2 separate regions of the Homo sapiens genome follow, and region 1 is linked to region 2. The links are contacts of gene promoters, found by promoter capture Hi-C in blood cells and fetal thymus (Javierre and others, 2016). All regions are on one chromosome and are shown on one strand. The core of a region is centred on a gene start or on the middle of the fragment in contact, and the rest is flanking DNA. Distances in the headings are between cores, read along the strand shown. Region 1 overlaps WNK1 (WNK lysine deficient protein kinase 1). Region 2 holds the start of FBXL14 (F-box and leucine rich repeat protein 14).

What was found. Contacts are between HindIII fragments. The CHiCAGO score rates a contact against its expected background, and 5 or more counts as called.
Region 1: a fragment that was not itself captured here is called in contact with the fragment with the promoter of FBXL14 in region 2 in 2 of 17 cell types (fetal thymus and total B cells); the score reaches 5.5 in fetal thymus.

Annotation. Positions count from the first base shown.
Region 1 is chr12:811,687-818,578 of GRCh38, forward strand. WNK1 (WNK lysine deficient protein kinase 1) reads left to right here. Exons shown (of 28, transcript NM_018979.4): 2 at 1,956-2,128. Among named protein-coding and RNA genes, the nearest start is that of WNK1, 63 kb to the left of the region's middle. The HindIII fragment of the contact is 1,090 bases long and covers 4,229-5,318 here.
Region 2 is chr12:1,593,022-1,600,441 of GRCh38, forward strand. FBXL14 (F-box and leucine rich repeat protein 14) reads right to left here and starts at 1,560. Exons shown (of 2, transcript NM_152441.3): 1 at 1-1,560. The coding sequence starts at 1,045. RefSeq lists enhancers at 1-117, 635-824, 2,195-2,264 and silencers at 35-84, 1,065-1,934. The HindIII fragment of the contact is 12,621 bases long and covers 1-7,420 here.

The DNA of each region.
Region 1 (6,892 bases), core at 3,524-6,023, 780 kb before region 2:
TTTATGAAATGTTCCTAGATTAAAAAAAAAACAATATTCAGTTATAGATGGAACAAGTAGACAAACTATTGAAAGAAGCCCCAAATTATTTGTTTAGGTTTCCCCCATTTCCTGCTTTGTTGATGATAATCTGTTGTCATGCATCTGTATTTCTAACTTCAAACATTAAGCAGGGGTTCTCAGATCCCTTAAAATAAATAATACTTTTCAGAAAGGATAAAAACACTTAGCTATATAAAGTAGCCTGTATTTATAGTATAGATGTCTTCTGGGCAAATTAGAGATAAAATATTCTAAATATTTCTATGGAATTTTTAGATTGTCATTCAGTGTATTCTCAAGGAAAATTAAATACGGATTTTTGATGGCAAAGAAGTCCCCCGTTTTTTTCCCTCTATGCTTTGCTATAAATAAGTAGTTGGCAGCTTTTTTACAATAAGCTTTTACAAACCATTTTTAAAAATCAAAAGCTGGGACCTTTGCAAGTTGATCATTCTGTATGGGTTGTGTTGGACTTAACTGAGACTCAGAGGCCCAATTTCAATTCTCATTTTTCTTTTAAGTCACAGGAATTTTTTATCCTTGGGGAAATGCTAACTGCTTATTAAGGACACACACACACACTTTTAAAGGGGTATTGAGGGGAAAAGACATTTATGGAATTCATTCAACAAATGGCTGTTGAACAAGTCACTATGCTAGGTTGTCAGGTGCTAAAGATAGAACACAAAAAGGTATCTTGTCACTGCCTTTTCATGACAAAAAGCCTCTGAGGGCTTATTCTATGGGGGATAAGAGTCAATATAATGTTGCCTGTGATTAAGTGTTATGTAAGAGGCATGTACATAGTATCCATTGGTTTTAATGCTATTGGGCAGAGTAGAAACAGGAGTAGTAACTTGGTTTCCTTTTATTACATTCCTTATTGGGTACTTTTGGCGACAGAGTGAGAACCTTAAAGTTCAATTAATAATTGATGTAATAACTGAAGAGAAAAATTAATGAACAGGAAGGTAGATCAGAAAACATTGCCCAGAAAGTAGCATACAGAAGGAAATGGAAAATGAGAGAGAAATTAAAGGATATTAAGGATAAACTAAAGTTATACACATACTCACACACATTTAAAAATTGTTTAAAAAGAAAAGAAGAGTTGGAAGGGGAAAAAAAGAGAATGAGAGGAGACAGTGTTTAGAGAGATACTGAGAATTTTCCTGACTTGAAGACAAATACTTGAGTATTTAAGTTATTGCTTAAAAGAAAAAAAAAATTAGGCTTCATGCAGTGGCTCACACCTGTAATCCCAGGCTTTGGGATGCCAAAGTAGGAGGATCACCAGAAGTTCAAGACCAGCCAGTGCATCATAGCAAGACCTCATCTCTACAAAAAATTAAAAAATTAGCCGGGCAAGGTGGCACATGCCTGTAGTCCTAGCTACTCTGGAGGCTGAGGTGGGAGGATCCCTTGAGCCCAGGATTTGAGGCTGCAGTGAGCTATGATAGCACCGCTGCATTCCAGCCTTGGTCACAGAGTGACTTCCTGTCTTTTAAACAAACAAACAAAAATAAAAACAATGTTTTGGTTAAAGATAGATTGATTTTAATCAAGGCAAAGATAGAACTGGAATTTATATTTAGGTCTTTGCCTCCAAAGCCTATGTTCATTTCCTGACATTAAATTGCATGTCTAGCAATTGATGACTTATGTTGGATATGGAAAGTTAACTGCACCTTACAAAAATGAGACTATATCTGAGTTACACATTAACAGTAAAGATACTAAAATGATCTCAAGCATGAATGTATATAATCCAAATCTATCATTTATAACTTCAGCATTTGCATTTTTTAAACACCATCGATCATGATTTAGTAATGTTTAAGTGTCTAAGATTAACTGTCTGATTTGGTGTTTTATCATTTTAAACCACATTCTGTTTTGGTTTTTGATTTTAGGATCGAAAATTAACAAAGTCTGAGAGGCAGAGATTTAAAGAAGAAGCTGAAATGTTAAAAGGTCTTCAGCATCCCAATATTGTTAGATTTTATGATTCCTGGGAATCCACAGTAAAAGGAAAGAAGTGCATTGTTTTGGTGACTGAACTTATGACGTCTGGAACACTTAAAACGTAAGTTCATCAGTATTACAAAAGCTGACCAAGAAGTATGAGAGAATTTGATTTTTTAAATTTCAGGTCTACCAGTTTCACTTTGGTTGTTCAGCCTAAGAAGGGAACAGTCCTTCCAACTGTTACTGTATTAGCATATTTCCTTGCCCACAAAGTCCTCTAGTATATAAAGTGATTTGATAATTATTTCTTGGTAAGTATTGAAATGAGAAGTTATGGCCGAGTGTGGTGGCTCATGCCTGTAATCCCAGCACTTTGGGAGGCCGGGGCAGGCGGATCACCTGAGGTTGGATCACCTGAGGTCAGGAGTTCGAGACCAGCCTGGCCAACGTGGTGAAACCCCGTCTCTACTAAAAGTACAAAAATTAGCCGGGCATGGTGGCGTGCACCTGTAACCCCAGCTACTTGGGAGGCTGAGGCAGGAGAATCGCTTGAACCTAGGAGGCGGAGGTTGCAGTGAGCTGAGATCACCTCACTTCATTCCAGCCTAGGTGAGACTCTGTCTCCAAAAAAAAAAAAAAAGAGTGGCTAAGGAATCAGAAATCAAATGTCAAGGTAGCCCTCTAGTGGTTAAAATGAGATTAAGGTTTATTGAGAAACTACCTATTTTTTTCATTTGTATTGTGCTTTGCTATATCCCTGCAACTTTTATATCAGATGCAGATTATATTGTGACAGTTATCACTTAAAAAATACTTTTAGTTCCATTTCCCATAACATCAGAAATTAATCCCCAAATAGCTAGATCTATCATTCCTTTCACAGAAATAGGTTTAATGCAGAAATTTCCCGTTACTTATTGTAAAGAGCTTTTGGTAAGTGTTGGAGTATGCCTTTGTAATCCCAGGTTTCTTAGAGCAGCAGTCCCCAACCTTTTTGGCATCAGGGATTGGTTTCATGGAAGACAGTTTTTCCATGAACTGGTGCGGGGGTGGGGCTGGGGAAGTTTGGAATGATTCAAGCACATTACATTTATTGTGCACTCTATTTCTATTATTATTACATTAAAATATATAATGAAATAGTTATACAACTCACCATAATGTAGAATCAGTGGGAGCCCTGAGCTTGTTTTCCTGCAACTCAACTGTCCCATCTGGGGGTGATGGGAGACAGGGCAGATCATCAGGCATTAGATTCTCATAACGAACGCTCAACCTAGATCCCTTGCATGCACAGTTCACAGTAGGGTTCATGGCCCTGTGAGAAATCTAATGCTGCTGACAGGAGCCAGAGCTCAGGTGGTAATGCGAGCAGTGAGGGAGCGGCTGTAAATACAGATGAAGCTTTGCTTGCTCGCCTGCCACTCACCTCCTGCTGTGTGGCCAGGTTCCTAAAAGGCCATGGACTGATATTGATCTGTGGCTCAGTGGTTGGGGACCCCTGGTATCTTAGAGGATCTGTTTTTACTCAGAGAAGAACCTGTAGTAAGTTACCTTGTATAAATTTTTTATTTGGTGAAATTGGATATTTTTAAATTATCACTGTGGCATATATTCTTTATTAATTGTTAAAGTTAATACTGCTGAGCTGATTAATTCCAGATCATTGGAATACAGTGTTACAGCACCTGGATATAGTCACTTGCATGTTTTCTGAAATGCTTACGGTTAGCATGTTGAAACATGAACAGATCATTTCTGTCCTGCAAATTCTAATTTCTTTATCCAACTTCCACTCTTGTTTATGGCAATACCTTTATCCTAGTTAGTCAGGCTTCTTGATACTCTCTTTTCTTCCATTAGAATGTGCTAACTAGCACTATATACCTAGTACTATGAACAAGTGCTAGATATCACATTCTACTGGAAGTGTCTAATACTGAATAATAAGTGTTTGAATGAATTAAGGAGAATTATGTGGTAATAATTATGTGTACATCTTGAGATTCTTTCCACTGGTTTGGATACTTACTTGGTTGTCAACAGTTTGTCTGGCATGCCTAAGATTACTCTAAAATACAATGGTTTACTTGTTTTAAAAACTATATTGAGGAGCTTTGGGTAACATAGTGGGGTAATAAGCCCCTGTGGAATGGCTGTCCCACACCAACAAACTGAAATGTGGAATATAATAAAAGTTTTTTCCAATACGTGTCTAAGCTTTAAGGAAAGAAAGGTTAACCTCCAGATAATAAGCAGAGATAACTCAAAGCCAAAACAGGAACTTATACTCTGGGATTTTAGACCACATATTGGTTGAGGAGTTGATGCTAGTTTTAATGTCCATGCAAGGACAGAAAGCCTTAGAACTAGGTAGAGAGGGGAGCTAGAACTTAGCCTGTGTCAAAAAACTGAACTATCCGTGAAAAGAGAGACCTCAGTGCTCTAGCCAGTGAAAGCTGCAAGGAATTTTACCTGTGTGCAGAAGACTGTGGATAAGAGGGGAGACCTATGAAAAATAGAAATTCACATCAAATGCTACCAGTGTTCTTAATTATTCTGTAAACTAATCTTTTCTTTTTCTTTTTTTGGAGACAGGGTCTCACTCGGTTGCCCAGGACAGAGTGCAGCAGCACAATCATAGCTCACTGCAGCCTCAAACTCCTGGGCTCAGGGAATCCTTCCACCTCAGCCTCCCCACTACCTGGGACTATAGTTGCTCACCACCATACCTGTCTAATAAAAAAACAATTTTTTTTTTTTTAGTAGAGACAGTGTCTATTTTGTTGCCCAGGCTGCTCTCAAACTCCTGAGCTCATCCTGATTTGGCCTCATCCCGATTTGACCTCCCAAACTGCTGGGATTACAAGCATGAGCCACGGTGCCCAGCCTGTTTGGTATTCTTCCATCTCATATGTAGATGGCGCTATAACATAAATTTGTACCATCTACTTGGTACAGGAATCCCAAACCGAAGAACATACATGATAATTGATCAGGAACGGAAAGAAAACTCCCGGGGACATTTTCACAGTTCCTTGGTCAGTGTCCAGAGGCAAAACTGTTTCCAAAGAAGATGACCTCACAATTAAATTACAAATCACACCAATGAAGGTGAATAGACACAACCAGAAAATAGCACTGCAACAATTAAGGATATCATGGACAAGTCTGAAAGTGATTACAAACAATTATTTACATAATGATGTCAGTAAAGATATTTGTAAGTGTATATGAAGTGTATAAAGAGAAAAGAAGGAATTGAAGGAAAAAGACACCAAAGAAAAAAAAGACAGGCATAATTTAAAAGCTTCTGAAGAACTTCTAGAAATAAGAACATTAAAATTCAAACATAAATGGTCTAACGGTTAAACAGCAGACTGAATTGAATTGACAGGAATATTAACTACGAAGAAATGAGCAACAGAACACACAAAAAAGACAGAAAATATTTAAAGAGGATGACATAGTAGTGAGAAGACCCAGATAGATTTAATTATCTAAAAGGGGTTTCCCTGTAGTCCTAGCTACTCTGGAGGCTGAGGCAGAGAATCACTTGAGCCCAGGAGGTGGAGGTTGCAATGAGCCGAGATCGTGCCTCTGCACTCCAGCCTGGGTGACAGAGCGAGACTCCATCTCAAAAATAAAAATGAAAAAGTAGAGAGAATGAGAAAAAGAAAAATTTCAGAATTTAAGAATTCTGATTGAGAATGTATACAGATTCCTAAGCAAGTAGATTGAAAACATTCATATTCATTTCTGGAAGAATGGATAACTAGGACCATTGGCAGCATTTGGAGAGGCAGATTGGGAAGGAATGGGAATTAATTCCAAAATGCGTGCTTTTTGGACCTTTCGAGTTTCTACCTTTGTTCTCTATGTATATTTACATTGAAACAGATAAAACACCCATAGCTGAAAAATAAGATGGGAATGTATGAGTCAGAAAATTTGGATTAAGGCCAGGCGTGGTAGTTCACACCTGTAATCCCAGCACTTTGAGAGGCTGAGGCGGATGGATCACCTGAGGTCAGGATCACCTGAGGTCAGTTCGAAACCAGCCTGTCCAACATGGTGAAACCCCATCTCTACTAAAAATACGAAAAATTAGCTGGGCATGATGGCGGGCGCCTGTAATCCCAGCTACCCGGGAGGCTGAGGCAAGAGAATCGCTTGACCCCGGAAGTGGAGGTTGCAGTGAGCCGAGATTGTGCCACTGCACTCTAGCCTGGGTGACAGAGTGAGACTCCATCTCAAAAAAAGAAAAAGAAAAAAAATTTGGATTAAAAGTTGAGATAAATTTAGATGTATTTTTTTAAATAGACATGAAATTCAAATATCATACAATTAACATTTTAGAAAGTACAATTCAGTGGCACTTAGTACATTCACAATGTTTTGTAAGTACCACATCTATCAAGTTACTCAACATTTTAATCACCTCAGAACACTCTGTGCCCATTAAGCAGTTACTCTGCATTTCCCTTCCTCCAGCCAGGCAGCGTATTTTTTCTTTAATTGCACATTATCTAAGTTCTTTTTCTTTTTACAATTAAAAAGAAATTTTCAGTTTCTGAGCTTCAGAGGCTTATGCCAACAGGAGGGTTTATTAAGTAGAAAGAGCATTAGACTTGCAGTAGAAGTTGTGACTGCTCCCACCGCTGCCTCTGACCAACTGTGATTTTGGGCAAATAGCTAACCTTATTTGGGCTTCAGTTCCCCATGTGTATGTAAAACAAGTGGTTGGACTGCCTGATCTCTGGGACCAGCCATTCGTGGATGGGATTTTTTTATTGTAAAAAACATAACAAAATTTACCATCTTAACCATTTTTAAGTGTATAGTTCAGTAGTGTTAATACAAACACATTTCTGTGCAATTT
Region 2 (7,420 bases), core at 310-2,809:
CCAGGCCCTTGTCCGTGATGCGCACACACTGTCCAATGTTGAGCGTGCGCAGCCCGTGCATCTGCCGCACCATGCGGTTGATGCCATCATCACTGATGTGGCAGGAGCAGAGGGAGAGAGACTTGAGGCCATCCAGCCCCTGGGCTATGTAAGCCAGACTCTGGTCTCCCACCTTGTCACAGAACGAAACATCCAGCCCCGAGAGGCGCAGGCTGCCCATGGCCAGATGCATGATGCCCGTGTCACTGATGTTGTCACAGGAGCGCAGGTTGAGGCTGCGCAGGCTGCCCATGTGCGACAGGTGCAGGAGGCCAGCGTCCGAGATTCCCCCACAGAAGCTGAGGTTGAGGAGCCTCAGGCCCGTCAGCCCTCGGGAGATGTGCTTTAGAGAAAGATCTGTGAGCTTCTGGCAGTCCTGTAGCGTGAGCTGCTCCAGGCCCAGGCAGCCCTCCGCCGCGCTGCGCGTCATGCCGGCCAGGTGCCCGATGCCCACATCCGAAAGGTGGCGGCAGCTGCGGAGGTTAAGGCTCTTGAGGCGCTGCAGACCCCAGGCGATGAGCAGAAGGCCAGTGTTGGTGATGTTGCTGCAACCTCCCAGCTCCAGCACCTCCAGGCCCTTGAGGTACTGGGCTATGCGGCCCAGGCTGCTGTCAGTGATCTGCTTGCAGAGGCTCAGGTTGAGAGCGCGCAGGGAGCCGATCTCCTGCACAAACGCGTGGCCCAGCCCGTTGTCGGTGAGGTTGTAGCAGCCGCTGAGGTTGAGGCTCTCGATGTTGGCCATGCCCTGGATCACGTAGCTGAGGCTGCGGCGGAGGCTCAGGATCTGCACCCGGCGGATGCCCCGGGCCTGCAGGCTGGGGAACAGCGACGGGTTGGCCCGGCGCAGGTGCAGCTTGGCCTCCACCCCCCGCCACACCGACTTGTGGTAGGCGGCGTCCCGCCAGGCGGTGCACACCTGCGCCGCGCGCCCCTTGTCCCGGACGTCCAGGTAGCCGAAGATCATGGCCAGCAGCTCCGGGAACAGGCATGAGATGTGGGTCTCCATCTTCCTCCTCCCCCCTCCGCGGCGCTGGGGGGAGGAGGCGCGGGCCCCGCCGCTCCGGCCTCGGGCAGGCGACGAGAGCGCTTCTCCCCAGCCGCCGCCGCCGCCGCCGCCGCCGCCTCGGGCCCAACGGCCGGCCCCTCCCCGCCTTCCGGCTCCGGCCGCCGCCGCCGCTCCTCCTCCTGGTCCGTCCGTCCTTCCTTCCTGCCGGCTGCGCCTCCGGCCCGGCCCTCCCCCGCCCCGGGCTCCGCACGGCGCTCACATCCCGGGCGGGGAAGGCGCCTCGCTCTCGCTCCCGGAGGCCGGCCGCCGCCGCCGCCTCGGCTCTACCCACGCCGCGCCCGGGCCGCGCCGCTCCGCCCGCGCCGCCGCGCCCACGCCCCCTGCCGCATCCTCCGCCTCCTGCCGCCGCCGCTGCTCCGCGGGCCGGCGGGCGGCGAGGGGGCCCCGGGGGCCGGGCGCACGGGCTCCGGGCGCGGAGGAGGCTTCCTGCTGCCTTTGTCTCTCGCCCGCTTTTCAAACCTCCCAGCCCCGGGCCGCCCGCACTCCGCCGCCCAGGCGGGGGGACCAGGAGGCCAATCCCGGCCGGCGGCGTGCGTTCCTTCTCCCCCGCCGTCCGCGGCCACTTGGGAGCTGCCGGCCCCCGCACCAAGGACGCCGCGGCCGTCCGGCCGGAGCGCGGCTCGGCGCAGACCCCGGGCGAGCAGGCGGGCCGTGCGTTTGGTAGCGCCCGGGCCGGCCCCGGCTCCGCCGCCCTGCAGCGCGTCCCCTCCGCCGCTCCCGCTCCCCCGCGCCCGCGCAATGGTACGGGCCTGCGCTGCCGGAACTGTGGAGCCGTTGCCCTGGAAACCGAGTTCGGCCTGGTCCCGTGGCCCCTGATTTTTAACCCTGTGGGCGCCACGGGGGAGCGGCAGCTGTCAGCAGAGCGCCTCCCCACCCGGCTTCTTTTCACCCGGTAGCCCGTTATTGAGCCGTTCCCTCTCTGGGCCACGCCCCAGCCCCGTTCCTTCTTTTTCTTTGCTGTTGAAGTCTGCGCAGCCCCTTCCCACAGTTTACCCCTGCAATTCGTTACCCTTATTTCACACCCCTCTCCCTTGATTATCCCTGCGAGAGCCGCCTCCTATAGCAGTGCTCAATAATCGTCACCCCAACTCTCCTTTTCTTACTGTCCCTAATGCCCCTTAACGCCTCATTATCACACCCCCTGCTCCCCCGGTTGGGGCTGTTTACTACGACGCCTTTCTCTCCAGTCTTGTGTCTTAAATTGGAGAGAAACTCGGCTGTACTCATCTTAAACAATGACCCCCTCCAGTCGGTGTTCTAGAAATTTCTAGAATTATCCATGACTACTTCCTTCTAGCATCTTCTGATGGTTTCCAGACACGCTGTGTGTGTTTCCCTCGGTACTTGATACATCAAAACTTCCCTCTACTTCTGAACGCTGCTGCGCCACCAATGCCCTCAGTCCGCTTTGCTTACAGGGGAACAGCCTTCCCCTAAGCCTTGTTTTAGGAGCTTTCTCCTTGTCATCAGCCTTAGACTATCAGTTGTATGGCTCAGTTGTACTGATAGTCAATATATTCGTATATGCTGAATCCAATTTACTTTTTGATTAAAATGGAATGACAGTTGAACTTGGTTTAAGACAATCCAGTCGTGTCTGTTGGTTTATCAACCGTTTTATGGAAGCAGGGCACAATTCCATTCTAGGATGTAGCCCCTGGGTCCTAAATGTCCGTACTAAGGATAGAATTTCAGAAGTTTCATTTTAACTACCCCCAAACCAAGAATTTTTGGATCAGAGAAAATGATCCTCTGTATTTTAATTTATGGATCCACACAACTAGATACAAGACCAGCGGATTTATCAGAAAGGGAAAATGGTTTCATTGATTCTTTGAGGACCTGAACAAGATTTGGAAGGGGTTCCATATTCAGTGTAGGAGAGTAACTTTTGCCCAAGCAACCACTATTAGACCAAATACATACAGATTCAGTAATAGGCATAATACACCTTTTACACCCCTACCACTCCTCTTTCCTAAATCAGGAAATGCAGAAGCAAAAATTCTCGCCAGCTTGTTACCTCACCCACATTACACGCAGTGTGGAGCCCATAGATTTTTATAACCTTCTTGAAAAAATAGACTGTACTGTTAGTCATCCAGTACATCCAGATGTACGGTGGCAGTAAGTGTCACGATTCTGGGGTATGCCTGGGCTTCACTCTTCTCCTGGAGGTTATCTAGGCTTTTATTCTTCTCAGTCACTTCTGCCTAAACGTTTACCTTAAATTCTGCGCAAAAGTCACTTTTTGATTGTTCTGTGCACCTAGATGTGTTTGGGTTGATGTCAAGGCCTTAATCCAAAGCACCTTAGTGTAACTTAATCCTGCTTAATAAAAAACAAAGTACCCCACACATTTGGGGGGAATTTTAGACAAGGGGCCTGACCAGCCTCGGACTAAGAAGGAGCCTAATGGTTTTCCTTCTCTAGAAAGGCCCTTGTTCTCAAATCTGAAGAGTCATTCAGAGGTATCTGGAAGCACTTTCTCTAGAAGTTGGCCATCTGGTCCTCGTTCTAACAACAGTTTTTCTTGAATTCTAGAATCTTATTAACACAAAGCCTTTTATTTAAGGCACTCAAGTATATATTATAAGGATTTTCAGCAATATGACTATTTTCACCTTCAATAAATAGGAAAATATAGCATCAAGAAGCATCACAGAAAAAGCATTCCCGGGGAAAAGGAACTAGGGCGTAGAATGAGCCCTATGCCGAATCTGAACACCTGGTGACTTTATGCTACTGAGGAAACGACTCTCCTTTCTGGGTCTCGGTTTCCTTGTGTAACACCAGGATGATTTGACTAGGTAATCTTCAGGGACCTTTCCAGTAGGAACACTCTGAGGCCAAGAGCCTAGCATACTGTCTCCTTAACCCATGGAACAATTACACATTGTTCCTAATGCAGGCTCCAGATATTAAGAATAACTTCGAATACAATAACTTCCTGGGAGCTTTGGTTTATGCTCAGACTTAGGACACAAAAATATATGAAGAATATGTATAGACAGGAGACTCTGATTGTCTGGCAAAGATGTATACCAATGTAGAAAATCCTGTGGCTTGCTCTTCATATTTTTAAAACTGGTTGAGATTTTTGTATATGATTTAACAAGTTGCAACCATAAGTTTTTTAACTAGCCTATTTAAAAGCAGAAATGATAGCCTTGTGTAGGGAGTCTCTCCAAAGCCTTACAAAGAATTTTTTTTTTAATTCTAGATTTTTCAGATGGAATGTGCTTTTCACCTGGGTAGGGTGGGAAAATTGAGAGGCCCAACCCAAAGATCAGGCTTACCTAAGGATTCATACTTTCTCCTTCAGAAGGGGAAGACCTGGCAGGAAAGATCAGAAGAGCTCTGTAGCTTTTAACTCCTCATTCAAGTATATATATATATATATATATATATATATATATATATATATATATATATATCTCCAAAAATAGTGGCCCAGAGTCTAGTTTATGGGTTGGGTCAGAGGAGTTAACATAGGCCGGGCAAAGTGGCTCATGCCTCTAATCCCAGCATTTTGGGAGGCCGAGGCGGGATGATCACTTGAGGCCAGGAGTTCGAGACCAGCCTGGCCAACATGGTGAAACCCCGTCTCTACTAAAAAAAATACGAAAATATTAGCCGGGCATGGCAGCACATGCCTGTAATCCCAGCTACTCGGGAGGCTGAGGCATGAGAATCGCATGAACCCAGGAGACAGAGGTTGCAGTGAGCTGGTACTGTGCCACTACACTCCAGCCTGGGCGACAGAGCAAGAGACCTTGTCAAAAAAAAAAAAAAGTTAAAATATTTTGTGTCTATTTTCCTTGAACTCTAGTGTATCTATGGCACAATGCCTGCTATGTAGTAGACATTTTGTCAGTGTTGTTGAACTGAAGTGAATGAGATGGATAATATAAATAATAATCTCTTTATGAAAGACTTCATACATATCGAAACTTCTTCGAGAGTTCTGGGCAGCCATTAGTAATCTGAGGTTTATAATAAAATGCTGCCTTTCCAACTTCAAGGTTTCTTGAGAGTAACATTCATTCTGTTGCTCAGTATTTCTAAGTAGGAGAGCATCTCTCTCGACACTTCTTCGTGACAGAATATTAAAGATAAGAGAGGGTGAGGATTTGATTCACTGATTGCAAATAAAAGATTTAAGCAGAAACAACAACCAAAAAAAGCCCAATTTAAAAATGGGCAAAGGGTTTAAATAGACATTTCTCCAAAGAAGATACACAGGTGATCCACAGCACATGAAGAGAGGCTCAACATCATTAGTCATTAGGGAAATGCAAATGGAAGCCACAGTAAGATACCACCTCATATCCATAAGGATAGCTACTATTAATAAAACAGAAAATAACAAGTATAGGTGAGGATCTGGAGAAAGTAGAATCCTGGTGCACTGTGGGTGAGAATGTAAAGTTGTGGGCCAGGCACAGTGGCTCACACCTGTAATTCCAGTGCTTTGGGAGACTGAAGCGGGAGGATTGCTTGAGCCCAGGAGTTCAAGATCAGCCTGGGCAACATGGCAAGACCCCATCTCTCTTATAAAAAATTGTGCAGCTGCTATGGAAAACGGTATGGCCATTTCTCAAAAAATTAAAAATAGAGCTACCGTATGATTCAGCAATTCTGTTTCTAGGTATGTACCTAAAAGAATTGAAAGCAGGGGTTCGAAGAGCTATTTGTACATCCATGTTCATAGTAATGATATTCGTAATACCAAAAGTTAGAAGCAACCCGAATGTCTATTGACAAATGAATGGATAAACAAATCATGGTATATACTCACAAGGGAATATTATTCAGCCTTGAAAAGGAAGGAGATTCTGACACATAGTGAGACATGGATGAACCTTAAGGACACTGTGCTAAGTTAGTAAGCCAGTCACAAAAGGAGAAATACTGTACAATTCCACTTATATGAGGTATCTAGAGTAGTCAGAATTATAGAAACAGAAAAAATAATCATTGCTAGGGGCTGGGGAGAGGGCTGATGCAGAATGGGGAGTTGTTTAATGGATATAGAGTTTCAGTTTTACAAGATGGAAAAGTTCTGAAAATTGGTTGCACAATATTGTGAATATACCTAACACTTCTGAGCTATGCACTTAAAGATGGACCAGGCGCGGTGGCTCACGCCTGTAATCCCAGCGCTTTGGGAGGCTGAGGCGGGCAGATCACCTGAGGTCAGGAGTTCGAGACCAACCTGACCAACATGGAGAAACCTCGTCTCTACTGAAAATACAAAATTAGGCGGGCGTGGTGGCTCACACCTGTAATCCCAGCACTTTGGGAGGCTGAGGCAGGCAGATCCCCTGAGGTCAGGAGTTTGAGGCCAGCCTGACCAACATGGAGAAACCTCGTCTCTACTAAAAATACAAAATTAGCCGAGTGTGGTGGCACATGCCTGTAATCCCAGCTACTCGGGAGGCTGAGGCAGGAGAATCACTTAAACCCGGGAGGTGGAGGTTGCGGTGAGCCAAGATCGTGCCATTGCATTGCAGCCTGGGCAATAAGAGCAAAACTTCGTCTAAAAAAACCAAAACCAAACAAACAAAAAAAGGTTAAGATGACAAATTTTACGTTGTGTGTACTTTACAATTAAAAATTTAAAAAAGATTTTAGCAGGACAAACATTTTGAAATAAAGATAGAAAAAAAGAGAGAAAAATAGGTGAAAAGTATTCTTACATCAACAGATTGCCGGGAACCCCCTGAGATATTTGAGATGTTCCCCCAAATTATTAGCTTGCTGTATCTTGTAAATGTAGGCTTAGGATCATCTTTATCCACTACCGTAAAAATAAGGGCTTGTGATCTGGGTAGCCAGAGCCTTCCCGTGAGGGTGAATGTGTGCTATATTGTCCACACTGGGAAACCCACGGAGGTGAAAGGGGGTGCTGTACTATTAGTATTCACGCCCGATGGATGGTCACGCCCTTTTACTCTTGAAATCGGGTTGCCATTTGTAATTTGTTATTTGCAGCTTTTGAGTGTTAACTATAATAGGTGTTTTTGTAGTTTCAGGCACCCAACCAAAGAATCAGAAATACGGTAATAGAATAATCTCAGATATCAGGTATTGTTTGTTCAATGTTGACAAACACCTTAGGTACTTGTTACAAAACAGGTAGATAGAACAACTCTAGGAAAATAAAGTGTGTTGTAAATGTAGCCATTTCCAGGTCACCGAACACTTAGAAAGACGGGTTTTCAATTTATTCAATCATTCAGGCTGGGCAGGGTGGCTGTAATCCCAGCACTCTGGGAGGCCAGGGTGGGAGGATTGCTTGATCCCAAGAGT